Linked DNA regions of Homo sapiens: all the other regions are linked to region 4. The links are contacts of gene promoters, found by promoter capture Hi-C in blood cells and fetal thymus (Javierre and others, 2016). All regions are on one chromosome and are shown on one strand. The core of a region is centred on a gene start or on the middle of the fragment in contact, and the rest is flanking DNA. Distances in the headings are between cores, read along the strand shown.

What was found. The method cuts DNA at HindIII sites, captures the fragments that hold promoters and counts their contacts. A CHiCAGO score of 5 or more calls a contact.
Region 1: a contact is called between a fragment that was not itself captured here and the fragment with the promoter of CDK11A in region 4, in 14 of 17 cell types (naive CD8 T cells, M1 macrophages, M2 macrophages and 11 more). The highest score is 9.8, in naive CD8 T cells.
Region 2: the fragment with the promoter of TMEM240 here is called in contact with the fragment with the promoter of CDK11A in region 4 in 5 of 17 cell types (M2 macrophages, M1 macrophages, M0 macrophages and 2 more); the score reaches 7.4 in M2 macrophages.
Region 3: a fragment that was not itself captured here is called in contact with the fragment with the promoter of CDK11A in region 4 in 4 of 17 cell types (M1 macrophages, activated CD4 T cells, M2 macrophages and 1 more); the score reaches 5.7 in M1 macrophages.

Annotation. Positions count from the first base shown.
Region 1 is chr1:1,556,797-1,559,813 of GRCh38, reverse strand. The region is part of intron 2 of SSU72 (SSU72 homolog, RNA polymerase II CTD phosphatase); the gene reads left to right. Among named protein-coding and RNA genes, the nearest start is that of SSU72, 17 kb to the left of the region's middle. The HindIII fragment of the contact is 1,482 bases long and covers 890-2,371 here.
Region 2 is chr1:1,539,051-1,542,214 of GRCh38, reverse strand. TMEM240 (transmembrane protein 240) reads left to right here and starts at 1,591. Exons shown (of 4, transcript NM_001114748.2): 1 at 1,591-1,925; 2 at 2,425-2,531. The coding sequence starts at 1,869. It overlaps SSU72 (SSU72 homolog, RNA polymerase II CTD phosphatase), which reads left to right. Exons shown (of 5, transcript NM_014188.3): 5 at 48-542. The coding sequence ends at 149. RefSeq lists a silencer at 2,712-3,006. The HindIII fragment of the contact is 17,050 bases long and covers 1-3,164 here.
Region 3 is chr1:1,509,840-1,513,107 of GRCh38, reverse strand. ATAD3A (ATPase family AAA domain containing 3A) reads right to left here and starts at 946. Exons shown (of 16, transcript NM_001170535.3): 1 at 635-946. The coding sequence starts at 839. RefSeq lists silencers at 829-988, 1,439-1,638 and an enhancer at 1,139-1,198. The HindIII fragment of the contact is 8,392 bases long and covers 1-3,268 here.
Region 4 is chr1:1,722,804-1,725,857 of GRCh38, reverse strand. CDK11A (cyclin dependent kinase 11A) reads left to right here and starts at 1,501. Exons shown (of 20, transcript NM_024011.4): 1 at 1,501-1,600; 2 at 3,027-3,054. The coding sequence starts at 3,040. RefSeq lists enhancers at 569-1,408, 1,389-1,618. The HindIII fragment of the contact is 24,282 bases long and covers 1-3,054 here.

The DNA.
Region 1 (3,017 bases), core at 381-2,880, 170 kb after region 4:
TGGAGGTTGCCGTGAGCCGAAGTTGCACCATTGCACTCCAGCCTGGGCAACCAGAATGAAACTGTCTCCAAAAATAAAATACAAAAAGTAGCTGGGTGTGGTGGCGTGTGCCTGTAATCCCAGCTGCTCAGGTGGCTGAGGCGGGAGGGTCACTTGAACCCAGGAGGCAGAGGCTGCAGCGAGCTGAGATTGTGCTGTTGGACTCCAGCCAGGGTAGTAATAATAGTAGTAGTGTATATACCTGGACCAGGGACGGGGATCTAAGCTCCCCTGACCTTTGTAGACAAATGGGAACTCTACTGTGTAGGTTCTTTCCTTGGGTGGACTGACCGTTTTATCAAGAATTGTTTTTATTGAGATAAAATGTACAAATCATGCACTTCCCTGAGTCGCGTGTCCAGTTCTGTGGGTTTCAGGACATTCATGGAGTTGCAGCCGTCACCACAATTGGTTTTGAGACGCTTTTCGTCTCCCAAGGCCGTTTGCTGCTGCCCATTCTCCTCCCAGTGCCTGTAGCAGCTTCCCGTGCTACAGGTCCGCCCGTTCCACACCGTCCAGTTTAGCTGCTTCCCGTGCTACAGGTCTGCTCATTCCACACTGTCCAGTTCATATGCAGCCTTTTGTTCTTTCGCTGAGCATGCGTGGAACTATTTCTAAGTCCCAGGTTTCTTTGCCATGACTTTTCCTCGCTCAGCCTCAGTGGCACGTGGAGTAGAGCAGCTTTGCGCTGGGTGTCCTGCCGAGGGGCTTGAGCCTGGCTCCCAGGGTCACGTGCAGAGGCTTCTCTATTTTTTTTCATTTTACACTGAAGCCACTTTCCATAGTTGAGCTTTCTTGCAGGATTTTTTCATTTTTGATTGAAAGGAGTCTGGTTAAGCCATCCCAAGCTTGCTTGGAGTGCCTTTGGGGAGAAGACAAGTGACTTCTGTTTCTAAGTTAGTGAATGGCCAGTCTGACCTAGTGAAGTGTCACTCAGCCCAGTGAGGGGGTCCAGGCAACAGCCGCTGGCCCAGAGGGTAGAGGAGGAGGGAGAGGCCGTTGTGAAAGGAGGGCTGGGGTGGCAGACACCGGCCTGGACAGTTCCCCCGCTCCAGGGAAGCCCATTCAGCCACATGAGAAGGTGTGTGGGAGTCTCACAGGATCCTACAGAAAGTTCATCCTGTGTACATGTAAGTTAGTGAAGGTTTACCAGCTTTTTGTGTTATGAACTGCAAAACCACTTGTCTTCAAAAGCAAGTAAACGTGTAGCTCTAAATGTTAATGTGACTGTTGTCCTGTGAAACGCAAGTGCATCTGACACTTTCCTGGGTCTCGTCTGGCCGTGCAGCTGGAGACCAAGCCTGTGTCTGGCATATACTGTTTGTACCTCTCTTGTGGATTTTTTTCTAATTACCTAATTTTTTCTAATGACGTTTGGGGTTTGGATTATTATTATTATTTGGTTTTGAGACAGGGCGTCTCTCTGTCGTGTGGGCTGCAATGCAGTGGTGCTGTCACAGCTCACTGCAGCCTGGGCATCCCAGACTCAGGTGGGTGATCCTGCCACGTCACCCTCCCCAGTAGCTGGGACCAGAGGCCTATGCCATGCCCAGCTTTTTTTTTTTTTTTTAATTGAGACAGAGTCTCACTCTGTTGCCCAGGCTGGAGTGCAATGGCACGATCTTGGCTCACTGCAACCTCCGACCCTGGGTTCAAGCGATTTTCCTGCCTCAGCCTCCCGAGTAGCTGGGATTTCAGGCATGTGCCACCACGCCTGGCTAATTTTTGTACTTTTAGTAGAGATGGGGTTTCACCATGTTGGCCAGGCTGGTCCTGACCTCATGTGATGAGCCCGCCTTGGCCTCCCAAAGCTCTGGGATTATAGGGGTTGCCACTGCACCTGGCCTGTGTTTTAAATTGCACATTTGTTCATGTCCGTCCTCTGAATTCATTGTCTTTTAGGTTAACTTCTGTGTGTGGCCACTTCCCTGTGGACATTTCCTTGTCTCAGAGTAAAATGTGGTAGACTTCTTTTTTGAGATGGAGTCTCAGTCTGTCACCCCTGCTGGAGTGCAATGGCGTGATCTCGGCTCACTGCAATCTTTGCCTCCCGGGTTCAAGCGATTCTCCTGCCTCAGCATCCTGAGTAGCTGGGATTACAGGTGCGGCGTACCACCACGCCTGGCTAATTTTGGTATTTTTAGTAGAGATGGGGTTTCACCACGTTGGCCAGACATGTCTCAAAACACCTGACCTCCGGTGAACCACCTGTTTTGGCCTTCCAAAGTTTTGAGATTACAGGTGTGAGCCGCTGTGTCCGGCCCCATATATATATATATGCTAATTCAGATGAATAGTATAGTTCCCAAAAAGGAAATGCTGATATGAAGCTTTATTTATTTATTTATTTATTTACTTTTTTGAGACAGAGTCTTGTTCTGTCGCCCAGGCTGGAGTGCAGTGGTGCAATCTCGGCTCACTGCAACCTCCGCCTCCCAGGTTCAAACGATTCTCCTGCCTCAGCCTCCTGAGTAGCTGGGATTATAGGCATGCACTGCCACACCCGGCTAATTTTTGTATTTTTAGTAGAGACAGGATTTCACTATGTTGGCCAAGCTGGTCTTGAACTGCTGACCTCAAGTGATTCACCCGCCTCGGCCACCCAAAGTCCTGGGATTACAGGTGTGAGCCACTGCGTCCCGCCCAGCAGCTGTGTTTTAAAATAGTTTTGGGAAGGTATTTGTCAAACAAATGAATGTGTTCCTAAGCCAGACGCCGATTCCCAGAGAAACTCTGATCGTGGGTTTTAGAAAATCATTCATGCCTAAAATGTAAATTACGGCCTTAAGATATTTCAGGTAAGGCCAGAGATACTGGCCTGCTCTTCTCATCTGAGATGACAGAGGTAGAACGGAGCTGACTGGCTGAGGTAGTTGCTGGTGGTCATTTGAGGGTCTGGACAGAATGCAGCTGTGCTGACTGTGCCTTCGTCTTCAAGAGGTAGCCCAGGGTCAGGGCCCACAAGCCTGTGAGTTTTC
Region 2 (3,164 bases), core at 342-2,841, 180 kb after region 4:
GACAGGCAGGAGTGGGCAAGGCCCTCACCACGGTCCTGTCCTTGCAGATCCAGCACACGGAAGACATGGAGAACGAGATCGACGAGCTGCTGCAGGAGTTCGAGGAGAAGAGTGGCCGCACCTTTCTGCACACCGTCTGCTTCTACTGAGCCCAGCGCCCGCATGGAGCCGCCTCTGGAGCTTCCTGTTGTTCATACTTTTTCCTTCCTGACATTTGTTTTTACTTACAGGTGTTCTGCTGGTGACGGTAGCATTACCCAAATAAACTGTGCATATGAAATGGGAGAGGAGATGCCAAAACGCCAGATGAAAGCAATCAAGTTTCTTCTTTTCCACTTTTACTTATGAGCAGGATATTGATTACAAAGTTTTTCTTCTTTAACCAAAAAGGAAAGACAACGGTTTGTGTGCACTTCCCGACATACCTGTGTCTTCGTGTGCCTGCCTTCCCTCCCTCCTCCCCACCGGGCCGGACTGTACAGAGCCCTGCTGCGGCGTGTTAGGAATGACCTGGAATTGTCAATAAACAGATGCTGCTGTCATTGTGCCTGGTCCTGAATTCCTGGCCCGACCCTCGCCCCTGAGGAGGTGGCAGAGGCCTAGCCCTGCCGCCCTCAGTGACCTCCGACCACTGCTTGGGAGGAGTAGCTCAGACCTGGTGGTGCTGACAGGGTCTGGGCCTACCCGTGCCTGTGCTGCCTGAAGCGGAAGCCGCCTGCTCCTGCCACAACTGCTGCCTGTGGTGGAGCGGCGTCCCCTCTCCATGTGGAACCCCCCCGGGCGGGGATCCCCCAAGGCCAGCTACGGGGGAGGCTGAGCCGGGAGGATCGCCTGAGCCCAGGAGTGGAGGCTGCAGTGAGCCTGGATGGCGCCACGACCCAGGCTGGGTCCCAGGCATAGCTTCCCGCTGACTTCCTGCTGAGGCCGGGGGTCGGCTCCCGGGCCTGAGACATGGTCACCGGTCGTGGATGAGAGTTTGGCCTCAGGACCCCGAGCCAGGGACAGCCACAGCGGAGTGGTGGCCACTGGGCCTCTGAATGGCCGGCGTCCCGACCCATGGGCCTGGGCTGACCCCCTCGTCCCCGCCCTAAGGGAAGCCTGTGCGGGGCGGCCCTGCCCTCGGCTCCTGTGCCACATCCCTCCGTTGAGGATTCCAGGGGTCATCCCGTCCCTGACCTGTGGCCCCCACGGCCGTGGGGCTGTCGCGACCTTGCGGACCCCACCCTGGAGGCACGTGCGTGCCGAGCGGACTGGGGCAGTCCCGCACCCGGCGACCTGGGAGTCCAGGACGTAGGGCGGAGCAGTGGGGCGGGAAGGGCCTCGGCGCCCCTCCAGGACCGGAGGACTGGCGTCCAGGGTCACCGGACAGGCCACCGGGGCTGGGTCTGACCAGACTGGGGCGGGACGCGAAGCCGAGGCTCCCGGGGAGGGGTCCCGGCCGGCGTCCGGGGGATGGCGGTCTCCTCCCGGCGCTGGCACGGGGCGGCCTGCGGTCTGCGCGGTCCCTCCCGAGAGGCGGAGGAAGGCGGCGGGGAGGGAGGGGGGAGGAGGGAGGAGGAGGCAGGGAGGGGGCCGGAGCCGAGCGGAGCCGAGTCGAGCCGAGCCGAGCGCATCGCAGGGAGGACCCGAGGGCGGAGCGGAGCGCGGCGGGCCGGGCCGAGAGACCCCAGAAAGGCCCCGCGTCCCTCCCCGGCGCCCCCCCCCCCGCGCCTCCTCCCCCCGGCCGGTGCCGGGGTTGCAGCGAGCGGCGGCGGACGATCCAGGGAAGCGCTGACCTCTGCGGAGGCGGCGGGGGCTCAGCATCGGGCCGGGGCCGGGGGGGCGCCGGGGCCGGGGGGCGGCGCTCCGGCCCGGCCCGGCCCCGCCCGATGTCCATGAGCGCGAACACCATGATCTTCATGATTCTGGGGGCGTCGGTCGTGATGGTGAGCGGAGGGGCTTCCCGCGCGCGCCCCCTGCTCCCCGCCCGCGCGCGCCGCCTGGCCCACCTCCCGCGCCTTGTTTACCGCCCGTGCGGCCTGCGCTCCCCTCCCCGGCCTGCGCTCCCCTCCCCGGCCTGCGCTCCCCTCCCCGGCCTGCGCTCCCCCACCCCGGCCTCCGCTCCCCTCCCCAACCTGCGATCCCCACACTCCCTACGCTCCTCTCTCCGGCCTACGCTCCCCCCACCCCGGCCTGCGCTTCCCCCTCCCCGGCCCGCGGTCCCCTCCCGGGCCTGCGCTCCCCCCACCCCGGCCTGCGCTCCCCTCCCCAGCCTGCGATCCCCATACCCGCTGCGCTCCCCCTACCAAGGCCTACGCTCCCCTCACCCCGGCCTGCGCTCTCGCTCCCCGCTTGCGCTGCCCCGACCCCGGCCTGCGCTCCCCACCCCCAGCCCCGCTTCGTCCCGCCCGCTCCTTGGCGCTGACCGGTCATGAGCTCTTCCAGGCCATCGCGTGCTTGATGGACATGAACGCGCTGCTGGACCGATTCCACAACTACATCCTCCCGCACCTGCGGGGCGAGGACCGCGTCTGCCACTGCAACTGTGGCCGGTGAGTCCACAACCGGCGCCGGCTCGACACGCGTGAGCGCACATGTGTGGCGGGGCCCACTCGGGGCGCGGGGGAACCAGCCCCACGCAGGCCGCGAGCCGCCTTCCACCCTTGAGGGCTGCCAGGTGCGCAGGGGGAGGAGCTGTCTCAAGGTGGGCGGGGGTCTCCTGGGGGCGCATGGCTTTAGGACGCCGTTCCTAGAGGCCTCCAGGGTGATGGCGGAATGGGTCACGGGGCCTCCTGGTCCAGCCTGGAGGCCGGAAAGCCGCAGCCCAGTGTGATGTCCACAGTGGAGACCCAAGCCAGCCTCATCAGGGCTGGGGCAGGAAGCGCCTGCTGGCACAGGGCTGGGCCCTGCACTGAGTCCCTGGGCAGGGGAATGCAGGTCAAGGCGGGAAGGGCCTGCCTTGAGGGGCACTGGGCACCACCCCCGGGCTGGAGAGGAGCTGAGGGATGGGCTGGGGGGGCAGCGGGGAGGTGGAGCTTCCTCAAGGTCATTCAGATTGAGGGGAGCGCCCAGACCCCCCGCACCCACCGTGTGACCCCCTCTGTGCACGTGTAGCGATGGGATCCTCTTGGCCATGCATGTTTGTACGTCCATGTACGAAATAAACATCTTCTCATGAGACGCGC
Region 3 (3,268 bases), core at 396-2,895, 210 kb after region 4:
GAGGCCGAGGTGGGCGAATCACCTGAGGCCAGAATTCAAGACCAGCCTGAACAACATGGTGAGTGCTCACACCCTGAGGGCCTTGGGTCAGGGGTTTACTCAAGCTGAGCAGCACGGCCTGGCCTGTGGCTTCACAGACCTCGCCGTGCAAATGCTAACGTCTTCCAACAAGAAGTGCAAATCTGCTAGTCTCGTTAGAATCAAGTAACTCTCAAATACGCTTCCCTTGTTACGTGGAAACTGCTAGCAACCACCCAACAAACCCATCTACCCATCTGGCCACGCCTTGGCCTGTGCCACGTGGAGGCGGCAAGCGCAGAAGGATCCCGCACGCTCGGCGGTAACTGAAGACCACGGCCAGCCCCAGACCCTGACCCCTGTAACCTATGAGCGCCACCTCCGCACCGCTTTCCGCACCTGACCCGCTCCTGACAGCTGCAGAGGTGCAAACGGGTGACGGAAAGAGTCCGATCCTCCCGGCACGCGACACGGCTCCGGCCGGGGGTGCTCCGGGGGCGCAGTCTCGCCCGGGAAGTGGCTGCCGACAGCGGCGAGGAGCGGCAAGGGCCAGGGCTCCCGCTTCCCCGGCCCGTCCCGCCCGCCCGCCCGCGCCGCCCCGCCCCGCCGCACTCACGCGAGTGCTCCAGCTCGCGCGCCGCCTTGGCGGCGCGCTCCAGGCCGGTGGGGTCGAAGTTGCTCCATTTGTCCTTGGGCGCCGGCCGGTCTCCCAACCCGCGGTCCCCGCCGCCCTCGGCCCCGGGCTGCGCGGGCGGCAAAGGCGGCGGCGGCCCCGCGCCTTCACCCTTGGGGCCCTTGTTAATGCCGAAGAGCCACGACATGCTCGCACCGCCGCCGCCGCTACCGCCGCCGGGACCCCCACCCGAGTCTGACTCGCGCGCGGCTGGGAGCAGCCTCCACGCGCCGCGAGCCGGTGGTCACCGCCACTGCGCAGGCGCCACACACACCCCTTCCTCCCGGCGATAGAAGCGCGTAAGGGACACGCGCGCAGCCCTTGGATTGGCCCCGAGGACAGTGACGCCATAGCGACGGCGCCGCGACTGCCGAACAGGCTTTGGGAGCCAGCGGGGCGGGAGCGGCGAAGCATCTGGCTACGGGAGCCACGCCGGGACAAAATTCCCGAGGGACGTAGGCGAACCCAAGGCAGCGTCAGCCCCGCGCCGCATCCGCGTGGGCTCCGTTGCTAGGGGCTCCGTTGCTAGGGGCTCCGAGGAGTTCCGGCCTTGGCGGCAGCGGGTGGCAAGTTTCCAGGGAGCCCCAAGGTTCTCGATCCGTGCGGCGGGGCGCCCTGCGGTGAGTCCAGGACGCAGAGAAGAGTCTCGCGGGAACCTCACCCGAGGCGGCACCGGCGCCCGGGCAAGCCGAGCCCTTCCGCGATGAGTCGGCGCCCTGGGGTCGCTGCGCCAAGAGCTCAGGAGAGGCGCCTCCCCTCCTCGGTGTCTCCGCAGCCCGCACGGCCCTCCCGCCCAAGACCCCGGGGCGACCCCTTCCCGCGTGGCGGGGCCAGCGAGCTCCTCTTGCGGGGCGTGGACGGGGCCGGGGTGCCCGGGCAGGCGCCGCCCCGGAGCCCACGGTCCACGCGCTCCCAGCGGCCCTGACTTTCTCCTTGATGGAACTGGTTGACTTCACGGAATATATGGAGTGACTTTTCCCACTGGATTGGAAACTGTTTTAAGCCTGAATAATGTTAGATACAATGAGTTCTAAACTTCCCTTCAAAGAATCAGTATATCAGTATGTTCAGTCTTTGTCCTGCATTTTAAAGTCTACCTTCCTCGCAGTTTCAGTAAACAACCTTTTCCACCAGTTCTAGTCAGTAGTTGACATCTGTTGCCCTGGTCACCTGCTCCGTCCTAACTAATCCCGGTCTCCTGCTTTGACCTGAGTCACCTTTAGTTACCTGTCCCATAACCATTTTTCCCGCCAAACCACTCACCCCGCCACTCTGGCCCATACTCCTGCTCCCTTTAAAATAGCCAATGGGCACTAGTTTAGACTGTGCATTCTAACCCTAGCCAATAGGGGAACCACACAGCAGTAGGGGCTACCCGCGTCAGGAATAAGAACCCCTTCCCCTCCCTTGTCCAAGCGCTCGCCATTGCTCCATCTATGAGATGTCCCCTTCTATAGAAGTAAATTATCTAGCTGAGAAAAATTTATATTCGAGTTCTACTTCTTTGGCGGCACAGAAAATTTACATATAACACAGTGAGCTGCCGAGATCTCGTCACTGCACTCCAGTCTGGGCGACTGAGTCAGACTCTGTCAAAAAAAAAAAAAAAAGCCAGAAAATGCCGGCCAGGCGCGGTGGCTCACACCCGTAATCCCAGCACTTTGGGAGGCCGAGGTGGGCAGATCACCTGAAAACAGGAGTTTGAGACCAGCCGGGCCAACATGGTGAAACCCCTGTCAAAAATACAAAAATTAACCTGGGCATGGTGGCGTGCGCCTGTAATCCCAGCTACTCCGGAGGCTTAGGCGGGAAAACTGCTTGAACCCTGGAGGTGGAGGTTGAAGTGAGCCGAGATCAGGCCACTGCACTCCACCCTGGGCGAGCACGACTCCATCGCCAAAAAAAAAAGAAAAGAAAAAAAAAAGAAAAAGAAAACAGGGCAGGCGCGGTGGCTCACGCCTGTAACCCCGCCAGTTTGGGAGGCCGAGGCAGGAGGATTGCTTGAGCCCAGGAGTTGGAGACCAGCCTGGGCAACAAAGAGAGACCCCGTCTGTACCAAAAAAATAGGAGAGGAGGAGAAAAACCAAATGACTTCCCCAGCAATAGCCAGACGTCCCCCCACCCCCACCCCATGGCTGTAATCAAGGTTTTGGTTATTTATTTATTGAGAGGGTCTCACTCTGTCACCCAGGCTGGAGTGCAATGGTGCGATCTCAGCTCACTGCAACCTCTGCCTCCCATGCTCAGGCGATCCTCCTACCTCAGCCTCCAAGCCAAGAAGCTGGGACCACCGGCATGTGCCACCTGGCCCTTTTTTTTTTTTTTTTTTTTTTTAGAGGGAGTTTGACTCTTGTTGCCCATGCTGCAGTGCAATTCCATGGTCTCAGCTCAGTGCAACCTCCACTTCCCAGGCTCAAGTGATTCTCCTGCCTCAGCCTCCTGAGTACCTGGGATTTCAGGCACTTGCCACCACGGCCGGCTAATTTTTTTTTTTTTTTTTTTAGGAGAGATGGGGTTTCACCATGTTGGCCAGGCTGGTCTGGAACTCCTGACCTCAGGTGATCCACTCTCCTTGGC
Region 4 (3,054 bases), core at 252-2,751:
GCGCGGTGGCTCACGCCTGTAATCCCAGCACTTTGGGAGGCAGAGGCAGGCTGATCACGAGGTCAGGAGATTGAGACCATCCTGGCTAACACGGTAAAACCCCGTCTCTACCGAAAATAAAAAAAAAATTAGCCGGGCATGGTGGCAGGCGCCTGTAGTCACAGGTACTCAGGAGCCTAATGCGGGCGAATGGAGTGGAGGCGGGAGAATGGCGTGAATCCGGGTGGCGGAGCTTCCAGTGACCCGAGATCGCGCCACTGCACTCCAGCCTGGGCAACAGAGCGAGACTCCGTCTCAAAAAAATAAAAATAAAAAAAGAGCTTGGGTACACAAAGCAAGCAGCATTTCATTCCGGGATGAAAAGAATTCCGATACCCATCGCCCTTCTTGGGCCCTTGTCAGTTTCTTGCCACATCTTTCATTTTCCCATTTCAGGCCCAGTAAATGCGGATGTTTATCTTCCATTGTTTGTTTCCTGAGATTCAGATGTCTAAAGCATTTTTCTGTGACTTTTCAAGGCAAGAGGAAAACCTGACATATGGAAAGGGAATTAATTGCTCGTTTTATCCTCTTCTCCTGCAATGCTCTGAATCCATGGGTTTGGAGTGGGGCCCTGGGAGTTGGGGGAAGCACCATACCCAGTGAGTCTGCACTTTGAGGACCCACTGCCAGTGTCAGCTTCAAAATCACATTGTAAAAGGCCCGGCGCGGTGGCTCACGCCTGTAATCCCAGCACTTTAGGAGGACGAAGCAGGCGGATCACTTGAGGTCAGGAGTTCGAGACCAGCCTGGCCAATATGGCGAAACCTCGTCTCTACCAAAAATATAAAAATTAGCCGGGCGTGGTGGCGCGGGCCTGTGGTTCCAGCTACTCGGGAGGCTGAGGCAGGAAAATTCCTTGAACCCGGGAGGAGGCTGCAGTGAGCCAAGACCACGCCACTGCACTCCAACCTGGGCGGCAGAGCAAGGCTCCGACTCAAAAGTAAATACATGAATAAATAAAATAAAATCACATCGTAAGAGCTCTCCCTGCTTTGTTTCTGAGTAAGGTTCAGAGTTAAATTCCGAGATCGGCCTTTACAAGACACACAGACCTGAGGCGCCTCACGAGGTAACCAGCAGGTAAATGGAGCGCGCTCCACCCACCCGCCACTAGGGGTCCCAGCGGTCAAGGGGGTGGAATGCGGGCGTCCATCGCGAAGGCATTCTGCTCGCAAGCCTTGGCACAGGCGCGGGCTTCGCTACCGGAAAAGTCCCGGTAGGATTCCGGAAGCCGGCCACGCGTTCCGCGCAGGCGCAAACTGCTCCAAAAGTCGGCGTCGCTCTGCTCGGCGCCCCGGCCCGCGCCGAAGTCGGAAGTGCAGCTCACGGCGCAGTTTCTTTTGGAGTCCTGGACCTGAGCAAGCGCTGTTTTATGCGTCATCATCCCGCGCAGACACAGGAAGTGCCGCACAGAGCGAGCCCCTGTCGTCTTGAGTTCTGGGCCAGAGGTCGGCTATTATATCATCATTAGGCGTCAACACAGGAAGTGAGGATACTTCTGGCGAGCGCCGGTTGCTGTTTCTTCTCAGGCTCAGGGACCGGCCGCGGCCCCGTAGGGGTGAGTTCCGACTGGGCGGACCAGGTGTGGGAGCGCGACGAGAACTGCGCACCGAGGTCTTTCTTCCGAGCAGGCCTCGGAGCGGGGCGGACCCGGGCCCGGGGGCGAGCGACACCCTCGCTTCCGCGGACAGTCTCATCCCGCACGGAACTTTGGGTGGTGGAGGCGGCGGGTCCAAACGCTGTCTGGAGCCAACGTCTGCCAGGCTGAACCTCAAGTGTGCGGGACTGAACCCGAGGAAATAGCCCAGTGCCCGGGTCAGGTGGCCTTGTTCGCGAGCACATCTCGGAGCATCTCCCCGGTCTCAAGGTGCAGCTGTCCAGTGTGCTAGTGGCTTCACGTAGTCCAAGCGGTCTTTCTAGCAGATTCTGACAGTAAAAGCAGTGTTTGATGAGTGGCAGGTCCTGAGTTAAGAGCCTTTAAACGGATGATCTTTAATCCGCGATCGATACTATCACGTAGGTGTTGTTATTCTGGTTGTACGGAAGACTGAACTGAGGTGAATTACGTTACCCAAGACCATACAAGAATGACAGAAACGAGACTTGATTTCAAGCGGTCATTTTTCAGAACCCATCACTCTTTTTTGTCGCCCATGCTGCAGCGCAGTGGCTGTTCACAAGCGCACTTCAGCCTGGAACTCCTGGGCTCAATCGGTCTCCCATCTCAGCTTGCAGAGTATATGGGACTACAGGCGCTCGCCACCTTGCCTGGCTTACAACTTATCATTCTTGTTTTTTTTTTTTTTTTTTTTTTTTTTTTTTTTTTTGAGACGGGGTCTTGCTGGAGTGCAGTGACGCGACCTCGGCTCACCGGAACCTCCGCCTTTCGGATTCAAGCGATTCTGCTGCCTCGGCCTCCCGAGTAGCTGGGATTACAGGCACCCGCCACCACGCCCAGCTAAGTTTTGTATTTTTAGTGGAGACAGGGTTTTCGCCGTGTTGGCCAGGCTGGTCTTGACCTCCCGACCTTGTGATCCACCCGCCTCAGCCTAGAGCTTACCTTTTTTTTTTTTTTTTTTTAACCAAGTCTTACTTTGTTATCTAGGCTGGAGTGCAGTGGCGCAGTCTTGGCTCATTGCAGCCTTGACCTCTCTGATTCAAGTGATCCTCCTGCCTCTAGCAGCCTCCTTCCTGTAGCTAGGAATACAGGCACGCGCCACCACACTGGGCTAACTTTTGTATTTTTTGTAGAGACGAGGTTTTGCCATGTTGCCCGGGCTGGTGTTGAACTCCGGAACTCCAGCGATCTGCTCGCCTCGGCCTCCCAAAGTGCTAGGGTTACCGTCTTGAGCCACTGCGCCGGGCACAACTTCTTATTCTTAATGAGGATTTATTCTGAATCCCTCAAAAGTGACTAGGTTCAAGTGTTCAGCACCATAGCTTGCTGTGTCCTGATGTAGGCTGAATTATTTTTCTTTTTGCAGTGTTTTAACTCAAATGGGTGATGAAAAG